Regions from separate parts of the Homo sapiens genome. Here region 1 is linked to region 2. Evidence: promoter capture Hi-C in 16 types of primary human blood cells and fetal thymus (Javierre and others, 2016). All regions are on one chromosome and are shown on one strand. The core of a region is centred on a gene start or on the middle of the fragment in contact, and the rest is flanking DNA. Distances in the headings are between cores, read along the strand shown.

What was found. Contacts are between HindIII fragments. The CHiCAGO score rates a contact against its expected background, and 5 or more counts as called.
Region 1: a contact is called between a fragment that was not itself captured here and the fragment with the promoter of TASL in region 2, in 11 of 17 cell types (neutrophils, monocytes, megakaryocytes and 8 more). The highest score is 23.6, in neutrophils.

The regions. Positions count from the first base shown.
Region 1 is chrX:30,715,564-30,720,950 of GRCh38, forward strand. GK (glycerol kinase) reads left to right here. Exons shown (of 21, transcript NM_001205019.2): 14 at 2,975-3,053; 15 at 3,856-3,952; 16 at 4,448-4,532; 17 at 5,058-5,178; 18 at 5,289-5,387. GK-AS1 (GK antisense RNA 1) reads right to left here and starts at 2,536. Exons shown (of 1, transcript NR_046603.1): 1 at 1-2,536. The HindIII fragment of the contact is 6,655 bases long and covers 1-5,387 here.
Region 2 is chrX:30,575,749-30,581,032 of GRCh38, forward strand. TASL (TLR adaptor interacting with endolysosomal SLC15A4) reads right to left here and starts at 2,018. Exons shown (of 3, transcript NM_025159.3): 1 at 1,890-2,018; 2 at 1,004-1,118. RefSeq lists an enhancer at 2,040-2,249. The HindIII fragment of the contact is 8,514 bases long and covers 1,383-5,284 here.

The sequences.
Region 1 (5,387 bases), core at 1,984-4,483, 140 kb after region 2:
AGGGTGTAATTTATGGTAACTTAACTGATAACAAGTAGACAGTCACCTTCTTTTATCATTTTAGGTTTTGGCTGCTATACTCTTTTCCTGTCCAGCTTTGAAACATTATTACCATCTTCCATTTTATTTCCTGCCTCTGAATTCAGAAGACCACATGTCTTTTGTGAATTAGAGATGTCTCTCATTTTTATTTCTTTAAAAGCTAAATCATACCATGTATTATATCCTGACAGCAAAATTATTTACTTTTTTCAGATAAGTGTTTTTATCTACCTTTTATTGTGTTATATTGAATCTAGTTTTTCAATCACAACAAAACACTTCTGTGTATTCCTGATGACAGAATTTAAAACAGTTATCTCCTGGAGCCTTAACAGTGACTATGTATTTTTTTTCTTTTGTTTTAATCTAAATAATACTCTGATTCTCAACTAATTACCTCTAATCAAAACCTTGATTTTCCTTTTGCTAAAATCATATTGCTTTCTCTTAAAAATATGGTGTAAGCATGTAACATCCTATCTTTTTCAATGGAAATGAGGTATATCAGCACGTGGTTTCCTAGAGTATAAAGTCCCACCAGCTGTGCCACAAAATCACTTTACTAGACTCCTAGCACAGTGGCTTCTAAAAATTCGCAGTTTAACTGTACTTGCCTAAAACAATTATGTATGCATTTCTTGGTTAGATGCTATTTAAGGACAGTGTCTTTGAGAGTATAAGGAGGAGGGACACCTGTTTTTGTTTTTCTTTTTCAATTAGGTCTAGAATTATACTGCCCATGGCAGCCATGGCCACATGCAGCTATTGAGCACTGGAAATGTGGCTAGTCTGAATTGAGATGTGCTGTAAGTGTAAAGTATATACCAGATTTCAAAGATAGTACAAAAAAAAATCTCAATAATTTAATATTGATTTCATGTTGAAATTTTTTTTAATACATTGGGTTAAATAAAATATTAATTTTACCTTCCTTTTACCTTTTTAATGTGGCAAAAATATAAATTACATATGTGACTCACTTTATATTTCTGTTGGACAGCACTGGTCTAGAAACTCTTACATATTTACTAGTATTTGGCAGCTGCTATCTCTGAATTGTCTGTTTCCAAAGGAAATTTGAATCTTAAATCTCTTTAAACCAAAATTTTACTTAGTTCTCTTGAATGATCCCACTAAGTACCTAAATATGTAAATGTGTCAAACTTAATACAACAACTTATTTTAGGCAGGGAATGAGCTGTGTTAGAGTCCCTTGTAAGGTATTTCTTGAATTGTTTTTGTCCCATTTTTAAAGCCTTGTCATATTTGCACAGCTATGCCAGATCTGTTCCTCAAATACTTCCTGTGGTTAAAAAGCCATTTTATATATGTAATGATACAGAGTACTGTATGTATGTCTACATATATAAAAATGTATAAACAGAACAATTGTGGCATTCTGTAGCTTTGCAGTAACATAGTAACTTCTCATAGAAGCTATGAATGATGGAATATACCAGCATATTCATTCTCTAGTTTACTTACATTTTGACAACTGACAACAAGAAGGCATGACCATTTGTAATTCAGTTAATAGAACTGAGGACAGGTCCCTACATTTAATATTACCTGACGTTTGGTTTGGAGTGACTCTGTGGAAGTAATTTACATTAATAATCTATATGAATGAACTATCAGAGCTAAAAAAAATTTCTTGGTATTCCTAATGGTTCGTGCTGATACTTCTTTTTTTTTTTGCCTTCAGGATCTTTTTATAATAGCTTTATTGAGATATAGTTCATATTCCACACAATTTACCCTTTTCAAATATACAGTTCAATGGTTTATAGTAATACTATATTTACAGATTTTTACAACCATCACCACAATCTAACTTTAGAACATTGTCACCACCCCAAAAAGAAACCCCATAACCACCCCCTATCCCCCAGCCCAGGCAACCACTAATCTACTTTCTGTCTCTATGGATTTGTCTGTTCTGGACATTTCATATGAATGGGATCGTACAATATATCGTCTTCTGTGCCTGGCTTCTTTCACTTTGCATAATGTTTTCAATGCTCATCCATGTTGTAGCATGTATTAAGACATCATTCCTTTTCATAGTCCAATAATACTCCATTGTGTAGACATACTGCGTTTTATCTATTCATCAGTCAGTGATATTTGGCTGATACTTTTTTAACATTAAAGAAATTAATGAAGTCAATATTTACATTTAGTAAGAACCTTCACATATATTCTCATATTGAGCCTCACAGTAATTTGTTTAGGTAAGTGTTGTCATAGTCATCATTTTATAGGTGAAGAAATGGAGGCTCAGAAAGCCTAAGTAACTTAGGCAAGTTACTTAGATGAACTTGCTAAGATTAACTTACTAAGTTACTTAGATTAGTTACTAAGATTACACAGCAATTAAGTACTAGAACTGGGACTCAAAGCCAGTTTATCCAACTCTGAAATATGTTTTTATTGTTATTGCCACAGCTCTAGGTGATTTTGTTTTAAAGAAAAATTACTTACTAGCTAGCTTCTTTGCTTTTTGTTTTCTTGATTTACTATACTGTTAGATATGGGAAACAGACTTGAAAAAACTTTTAATGTGGCCTCTCCCAATAATTTTATGAACAATATGGCAATATATTTCTAAGTGATAACATACCTCAGTAGCTTAGCAACAGACAGAAAATTGTTCAAGAAGCAAACTGATCAAAGATCAATGTCCACCTATGGGGACAAATCCAAGGGTGTGCTGGAAAGCTCACTTCTTTTCCTCATCCCGTGAAAAACTTTTATTAGTGACTTAGATAAAACTATGTTTGTATTAGAAGACCTAGTTTACATATTTGTCGGAGTCTCAAAATGGAAACTGAATTCTGTCCATCTGATTGTGTCATACACAGAATATGCTCAATAAAAACCTTGGATAGTGATAAAATATATTCTGTCTTGAATTCCTTTTTTTCTTTAGGGTTCTGTAGCTATAGCTGGTGCTGTTATTCGCTGGCTAAGAGACAATCTTGGAATTATAAAGACCTCAGAAGAAATTGGTGAGTGTGTTCTAACAAAAGGTTAGAAAATCTGAAAAATGACACATTTCAGTATTTTATCTCTGCAAAGTAAATACTTATGCTTTGCCCCAAATGTGATCCATAAATTATATGGATCCCTATTATGAGTTTGACTTATGCAAAAGACTATCTTGTGAAGATTTATAAAACAAGGAATTGACATAATTAGTGGTGGTTGTTAATAAACTGGCAATGTAGGGCATAAAAATTACCCAAGTGTAAAATTGAACACTGGAGATTGCCAGAACCTGCAGATAGAGAAGTTGAGTTAAATTTATCTGATGAGAAAGAGCTTTAACTCTTAGATTAGAGTGAGCATTAAAACTCTGGTACCTATAATTTAAGTATTAATACGGCTGTTTTCAGTCTATAGATAATTAGTTTGAACTTACCTACTCACTCTTTCATCCACTTGCTTAACTTTGCCTGAAGGTGAGACAATCAGAAATACATTTCTGATTAGGGACACACTAGAGGCCACTTTTTCATCTCCTAGTCAGCAACCTTAAAAATAGTGGAAATGAGCTAAAATACCTTAAATAAATGAATCTGGTTCCTTGATTTCTTGAGCTAGGCTACATTTTAGTGGGGGGTATTTAATGTGAGAGAAACTCATTTCTGTTGATCCTAGCATACTACTGTAGTTAGCAACATTTTGCTCTACCAATGAATTGGAAACCAAAACCCCTGTCCTAATTTTTCTAATTTTTAAAATAGGTATGCTTATATAATAATACACAATATTTGTGTGATTTTTGTTTTGTTTTGTTTTTAATGTTAGAAAAACTTGCTAAAGAAGTAGGTACTTCTTATGGCTGCTACTTCGTCCCAGCATTTTCGGGGTTATATGCACCTTATTGGGAGCCCAGCGCAAGAGGGTAAGTATTGAAAATATGGAGTGCTTTTGGGGATCTTGATTTATTTACCAAAGTCGTTAATAACTTATTAGTTTCTTATCTATTTTCAAATAATTATAATGTGTTGAGAAAACCTTTTCTTTTTGGAGAATATAATTTCAGAAACTTTAAGCTCCAAGAAGTTATGAATCAGCTGACAATAACCCCTGCCATATCCGTATTCATGTTATCTTTTATCTTCATGATGTCTGTAAGTTGTATAGTGAAGGGACATCATCATAATGAATACTGATTCAGTTTTATGATGCCATCATCTTTTCAAATGTGTCATGAATTTTTTCATACATGAATGCAGAATTGTGAAATATAAGGACTTTCTGAGTTACTTAATGATTATGTCCAATTTTCTCTTCCTGGACATTTCTGTCTACCAAATTTGACCTTTTCATATTTGAGATATTTCAAATTGATTGGTTTATATCATTCTAATCTGAAAATCTTTGTGCGTATTTTTAGGATAATCTGTGGACTCACTCAGTTCACCAATAAATGCCATATTGCTTTTGCTGCATTAGAAGCTGTTTGTTTCCAAACTCGAGAGGTAACAAATATGGGCCTGTTTTCTTGTACTTAGTTCACTTTTATCACTCTTAAGTTATATGTTAACACCCGAGATTTATTCAGTACTGAAAATGTAGTTAATCAAATATTAAGGCTGCCTAAATACTAATCTAAATATAAGCAGGGTTTTCCCCCTTTTTCCAGCTGTCATTACCTTCTAAGTTCCTGTTCCCTGTCAGGCACTGGGAATTTTATGGTTGTGGGGAGGCTGAGTGGCACACATTAGGCAAAGGAAACAGCACAAACATAGGCATCAAGGCAGAAAAACAGGGTGCAAAATAGAGTTGTATAGCTTAGCTGAATATCAAGGTGAATGCAGAGGTGTAGTGAGAGAAAAGGTTGGCTGTGACCAGATCAAAGAGGGCTTAGAAGACCAGAATAAGAAGTCTCAATTTATTCCATAGGCTCTTGGAAGCTCTTGAGAGTTTCTGAGTGGAGGATTGCCATTTTCAGAGATGTTACTATGAAATAGATTTATAACATTAATTGCACTGGTTTATTTAAGATTTTGGATGCCATGAATCGAGACTGTGGAATTCCACTCAGTCATTTGCAGGTAGATGGAGGAATGACCAGCAACAAAATTCTTATGCAGCTACAAGCAGACATTCTGTATATACCAGTAGGTTAGTAAGTCTTCATTCCTTTAAACTCCCAGAGTAATGTTTCTTGTGGAATAACTAGTTCTTTGGGCATATGTAACCACAAAGATATTGATGGAACTCTCTCTCCTCAGTGAAGCCCTCAATGCCCGAAACCACTGCACTGGGTGCGGCTATGGCGGCAGGGGCTGCAGAAGGAGTCGGCGTATGGAGTCTCGAACCCGAGGATTTGT
Region 2 (5,284 bases), core at 768-3,267:
ACCAAAGTTAATGGCTACTTCCAAGGACGATCTGATGTGTGAATTTTCTTAGTTCAGAAAATGTAAACTTTGGTGCAGAAATATTAGTAAATATATTTTATCATAGTTTGGATTTTTCTTTATACTCCTTCTTGATATAAATTGAAAAATTAAACCTTTTGGATCATTTTTTGAATCACTTTCAATGTATTTTGATGCAAAATGAGAGGACTAAAAAAATAAGAAACCTATCATAATAGTATTGTACTGATATAAATTTCTTTGGTGTTATAATTGTTAATCATTGTTAATCATGTTAATTATGCCAATTTCATTAACATTTACTTAATTGTAGGCATGTCAACTACAAATGCAATGCAAGATTCTTGATTGGATCCTGGATTTAAAACATAAAAAGATTCTAAAGGACATGTGGATAATTAGGAAAATTTGAATGTGTATCACATCTTAGATAATAGTATTGTGTTGATGTTATGTTTCCGTGGTGTTGTAATGTGTTATAGAAGACTGCCTTTATTTTTAGGAGATACATGCTCAAGAATTTAGGGGTGACATGTGTCCTAAAGTCAGCAACATACTTTCAAACCATTCAGGGAAAAAACTGTGCATATGTGCATGCGTGTGTGTGAATATATATATACACATATAGAGAGAGAGAAAAGGACAGGCAGAGACAGAGAAAGACAAAGCGAGAGAGAAAGTAAATGTGGCAAAAAGATACCACTGATTAATACACATGATGAAAATATGGGTGTTCGTTGTACTATTCTTTCAATTTTTATATAGATTTGAAACATTTCTAAATAAAAATTGGGAGGGGGAAAAAACCATATTTAGTTAATGAAGGCATATTTACATTGTATAATGTTTATTAAGAGCCTAGAGGGACAATATCTTATATATCTAAAATAATCACTACATATGAGATGAGAAATGTCTCAGTGACTTGATATAAATACTTCAAACATCATTTTGCTCTGAGATAATAGAATTAGTGTACTACCTTTGAATATCTCCAAAATTCCACTTATGATATGGATGTTTGACACAGACTTCAAATACTCTTCAATCCTCCAGAAGCTTCTCAAGCTCAGAAACAATCTTCTTCTCACACTGACCTATGCAAGAAATGTTATAAAATATCAATATAAATATTCTGTCCAAACCAGGTCTATATTTAAGCACAGATTCATATGCGCAAGACAAAGAATGTTTGAGCGAGTCTAAAGATAATTCAAACAAAACTCCACTCGTACATGCGCTATCTTTAATACCAAAAGGGAAGCTTTCCCCAAATCACCCAGATGAAAGTCGAAAAGCATCCTCACTATAGATCGCATTCATTTTGAATACATCCTGCCACACAGAAAAACACTATCACAAGCTTGCTGAACTGAATAATTGAGAGTCAAATCCAATTGGAAAGGACTGTGATTGTTTTCGTCTCTAAAACTGCATCACCGTAACTGAATTCAAGAGCTGTGTTGTCCCTGCAAAACCCTGCTTAGGTTTTTAGGCCTTCTTTTAAAAATGCAGAAGCTAAACCAGTGTGGCAATTAGTGAAAGAGGACTGCAAAAATAACACAATAAATATTTGCTCAGATCAGTCAAAAATTGTAGGTAAAAATATAAGTGTTTTAGAAATGCTTAGAATGTGGACACGAGGAGGTAAGGAAAGGAAGTATTGGGCTTAATTTCTCTTTATTTTTCAACTCCACTGAATGCTTGTTTAAACTCCCACTTGTCTCTGATATGGTAAGCTAGAAAAGCATTTTAGATGTCATAAGAATGGATCAGCGCTCTCGTGATAAAGGGCTAAGAAAGCGTGAGAAGACAGATGACAAAAAATAATAGCGGAGTTCTAGGGTCCTTTGCTTTCTTTTTCTTACCTTCACTAACCAATCTGCTCATCTGATCCGGCAGAAACACAGCAACTGACCAAACAGAGAGATGAACAAGCCAGCCAATGCTCTTTCCAGAAATTTTCACAAGCCTTTCACTGATGAGACCAGTAGACTGAGCTGCTCAGTGCAAAGCCATTCTTTTTATAATTGGTCCCATGGAAAAAGAGTTGTTTTTGTTCAAGTCCGATTTGTGCTAAAGAGGCAGTGGGAAGTCCCGGGAGGTGGGGAGGCAGTAACTGACAAAGCCACATCAAGCCACAGAATGGTGTTTCTTCCCCTTTTTCGAAAAATGAAACCTATCTACGAAACTGTCTCTTATTAAAATAGTTTATGGTTACACATTTTGTAAGAACCCTAGCAACAGAATTAAATTTCCTTTCTAGAAAAGTACATTATCTGGGATCCTTCACCCAAAAGAAAGCCAAAGTCACATATGACTTTAGGAAATTCTGTTTCGTTACTAATCTATAATTTTTAAGAAGTATTATTTCTCAATGGTACTTATAATTTTTAAAAATGTAAATGAAAAAAATTTTCTCGGCCGGGCGCAGTGGCTCACGCCTGTAATCCCAGCACTTTGGGAGGCCGAGGCAGGTGGATCAGGAGGTCAGGAAATCGAGACCATCCTGGCAAACACGGCGAAACCTCGTCTCTCCTAAAAATACAAAAAATTAGCCGGGCGCGGTGGCGGGCGCCTGTGGTCCCAGCTACTCGGGAGGCTGAGGCAGGAGAATGGCGTGAACCCGGGAAGTGGAGCTTGCAGTGAGCCGAGATCGCGCCACTGCACTCCAGCCTGGGCGACAGGGCGAGACTCCGTCTCAAAAGAAAAAAAAAAGAAAAAAGTTTTCCCTCTCCAAATACCGAAGGTCAAAACAATAATACATGGTGTGGGCAAAGTTGTGAAGAAACAAGCACTCTCAAACACTACTGATGAGATTGTAAACATATTTAGAGGGCAATTTCCCAGTATCTCTCAAATACAAATATTCATACCCTTTGACCCAACAATTGTATTTTTTATAAATTTGTCCAAGCTATATGTTTACACTTGTACACAAAGACTTATGTGAAAAGATATTTGTTGCAGCATTGCTTGAGAAAATAAATGACTAGAAAAAATTATATCCATAAATAAGATATTGGCCAAGTAAATGAGAACGTATGCATACTTAAAATCCTATGTAGGTTGTGTGCGGTGGCTCACGCCTGTAATCCTAGCACTTTGGGAGGCCGAGGCAGGTGGATCACTTGAGGTCAGAAGTTTGAGACCAGCCTGGCCAACATGGTGAAACCTTGTCTCTACTAAAAATACAAAACTTAGCCACGCGTGGTGGTGGGCACCTGTAATCCCAGCTACTCGGAGGCTGAGGCATGAGAATCCCTTGAACCCGAGAGGTGGAGGTCACAGTGAGCTGAGATTGTGCCACTGCACTCCAGCCAGGGTGACAGAGCGAGACTCCATCTCAAAAAAAAAAAAAAAGAAAAAAAAAGATCTCTAACATATATTGTTTAGCAAGAACTCATTTTCCAGTTTGTATTTTTAAGGAATATATGTATATACATGCTTATGTAATAGAATATTTCTTTTTAAAATTTTGTATTTTAATTTTTGTAGGTATACAGTAGGTGTATATATTTATGGGGTACATAAGATGTTTCGATACATGCATATGATGCATAATAATTACATCATGAAAAATGGGGTATCCATCCCCTCAAACATTTATCTTTTGTGTTACAAAAAATCTAATTATACTATTTTAGTTATACTAAAATGTAAAATTAAGTTATTATTCACTACAGTATCCCTGTTGTGCTATTAAATACTTTGTCTTATTCATTCTTTCTAACTAGTTTTTGCACCCATTAACCATCCCTACCTGCCCCACCAGCCCTCCACTACCCTTCCCAGCCTCTGGTAACCATGCTTCTACTCTCTATGTGCATGAGTTCAATTGTTTTGATTTTTAGATATCACAAATAAGTGAGAACATGTGATGTTTGACTTTCTGTTTCTGGCTTATTTCACTTAACATAATGACCTCTGGTTCCATCCATGTCGTTGCAAATGACAGGATCTTATTCTTTTTTGTGGCCGAATAGTACTCTATTGTGTATATGTATCACATTTTCTTTATCCATTTATCTGTTGATGGACACTGAAGTTGCTTCCAAATCTTAGCTATGGTGAACAGTGCTGCCACAAACATAGGAGTGCAGATATCTCTTCAATGTACTGATGTCCTTTCTTTTGGGTAGATACCCAGCAGTCCGATTGCTGGATCTTATGGTGGCTCAATTTTTAGTTTTTTGAGGAACCTCCAAAGTGTTCTCCATAGTGGTTGTACTAATTTACATTCCCACCAACAGTGTATGAGAGTTCCCTTTTCTCCCTATCCTCACCAGCATTTGTTATAGCCTTTCTAGAATATTTCTTTTTTTATGCTACACACAAGAAATCAGAAATAAGCAATTGTGTTTCAGGAACAAGACTCATTTTTCATTCTATACCCTTTTGAAATTTCTGTGTGTATGTATTACTTTTTCATTTTAAAAACTAGTATTCTTAAGTCATATTTAACTTTGATTGTACGGCCCAAATGTATTATAATCTATGTCTTTTCTGGAGGACAGACAAGTCTATCTGCAAATGGGTCAGTTCTTCTTGCCCAAAAGCAGAAAAATTAAGGGTTTCAAAATCATTTATCTGGTTTACCCTGACTGCTTCAAGTTAACCAACAAAGAATAAGCCTGCCCAAATCATAACTACTTCACTGTCTTTTTCTACCTAACTCCAATCAAAACTAAGTTCTATGGATACAAAAAACAAAACAAAACAAAACAAAGCAAAACAAAAAACAAAGCTAAGTTCCAAACTCTTAAGAGGTGAACATTTCCACTTAATGGGTTTGATTTTGTTTACTTTTGTTCAACGACTTATCTTAAAATGTCATATATTTTAAAGTATACTAGCATTTTTATTTTTGTTAGTCATGATTTTCTGCATTATTTTTTCATGAAACATTACTTAAATCCACTTTAGAAGGCATGCTCTCATGTATGAGCCATGATAAGGACAGTTTCTCAACTAGTCCTGAATCTGACTTGACCTACCATCACAGGAAACACCAGACTCATTGCCCCAGGGGCAAATTCAGTTACAGTGTAATCTTACAAAATCAGGTTCAGTGATGTCTTCAGGCATTTTTAGCTCATCAAGGATTTAGCTGTGATCAAGAGACCATAGCACCTGTAGGGCCAAACATTGATTTATTTCACTTTAGTGTTGCTTCATCCACAGTCATGAGACACCGTAGAGTAGGTCTTACCTACCTCCAGAAACACTTTATGGTGGGTTACCAAGAACTCGCCTGGAAGTA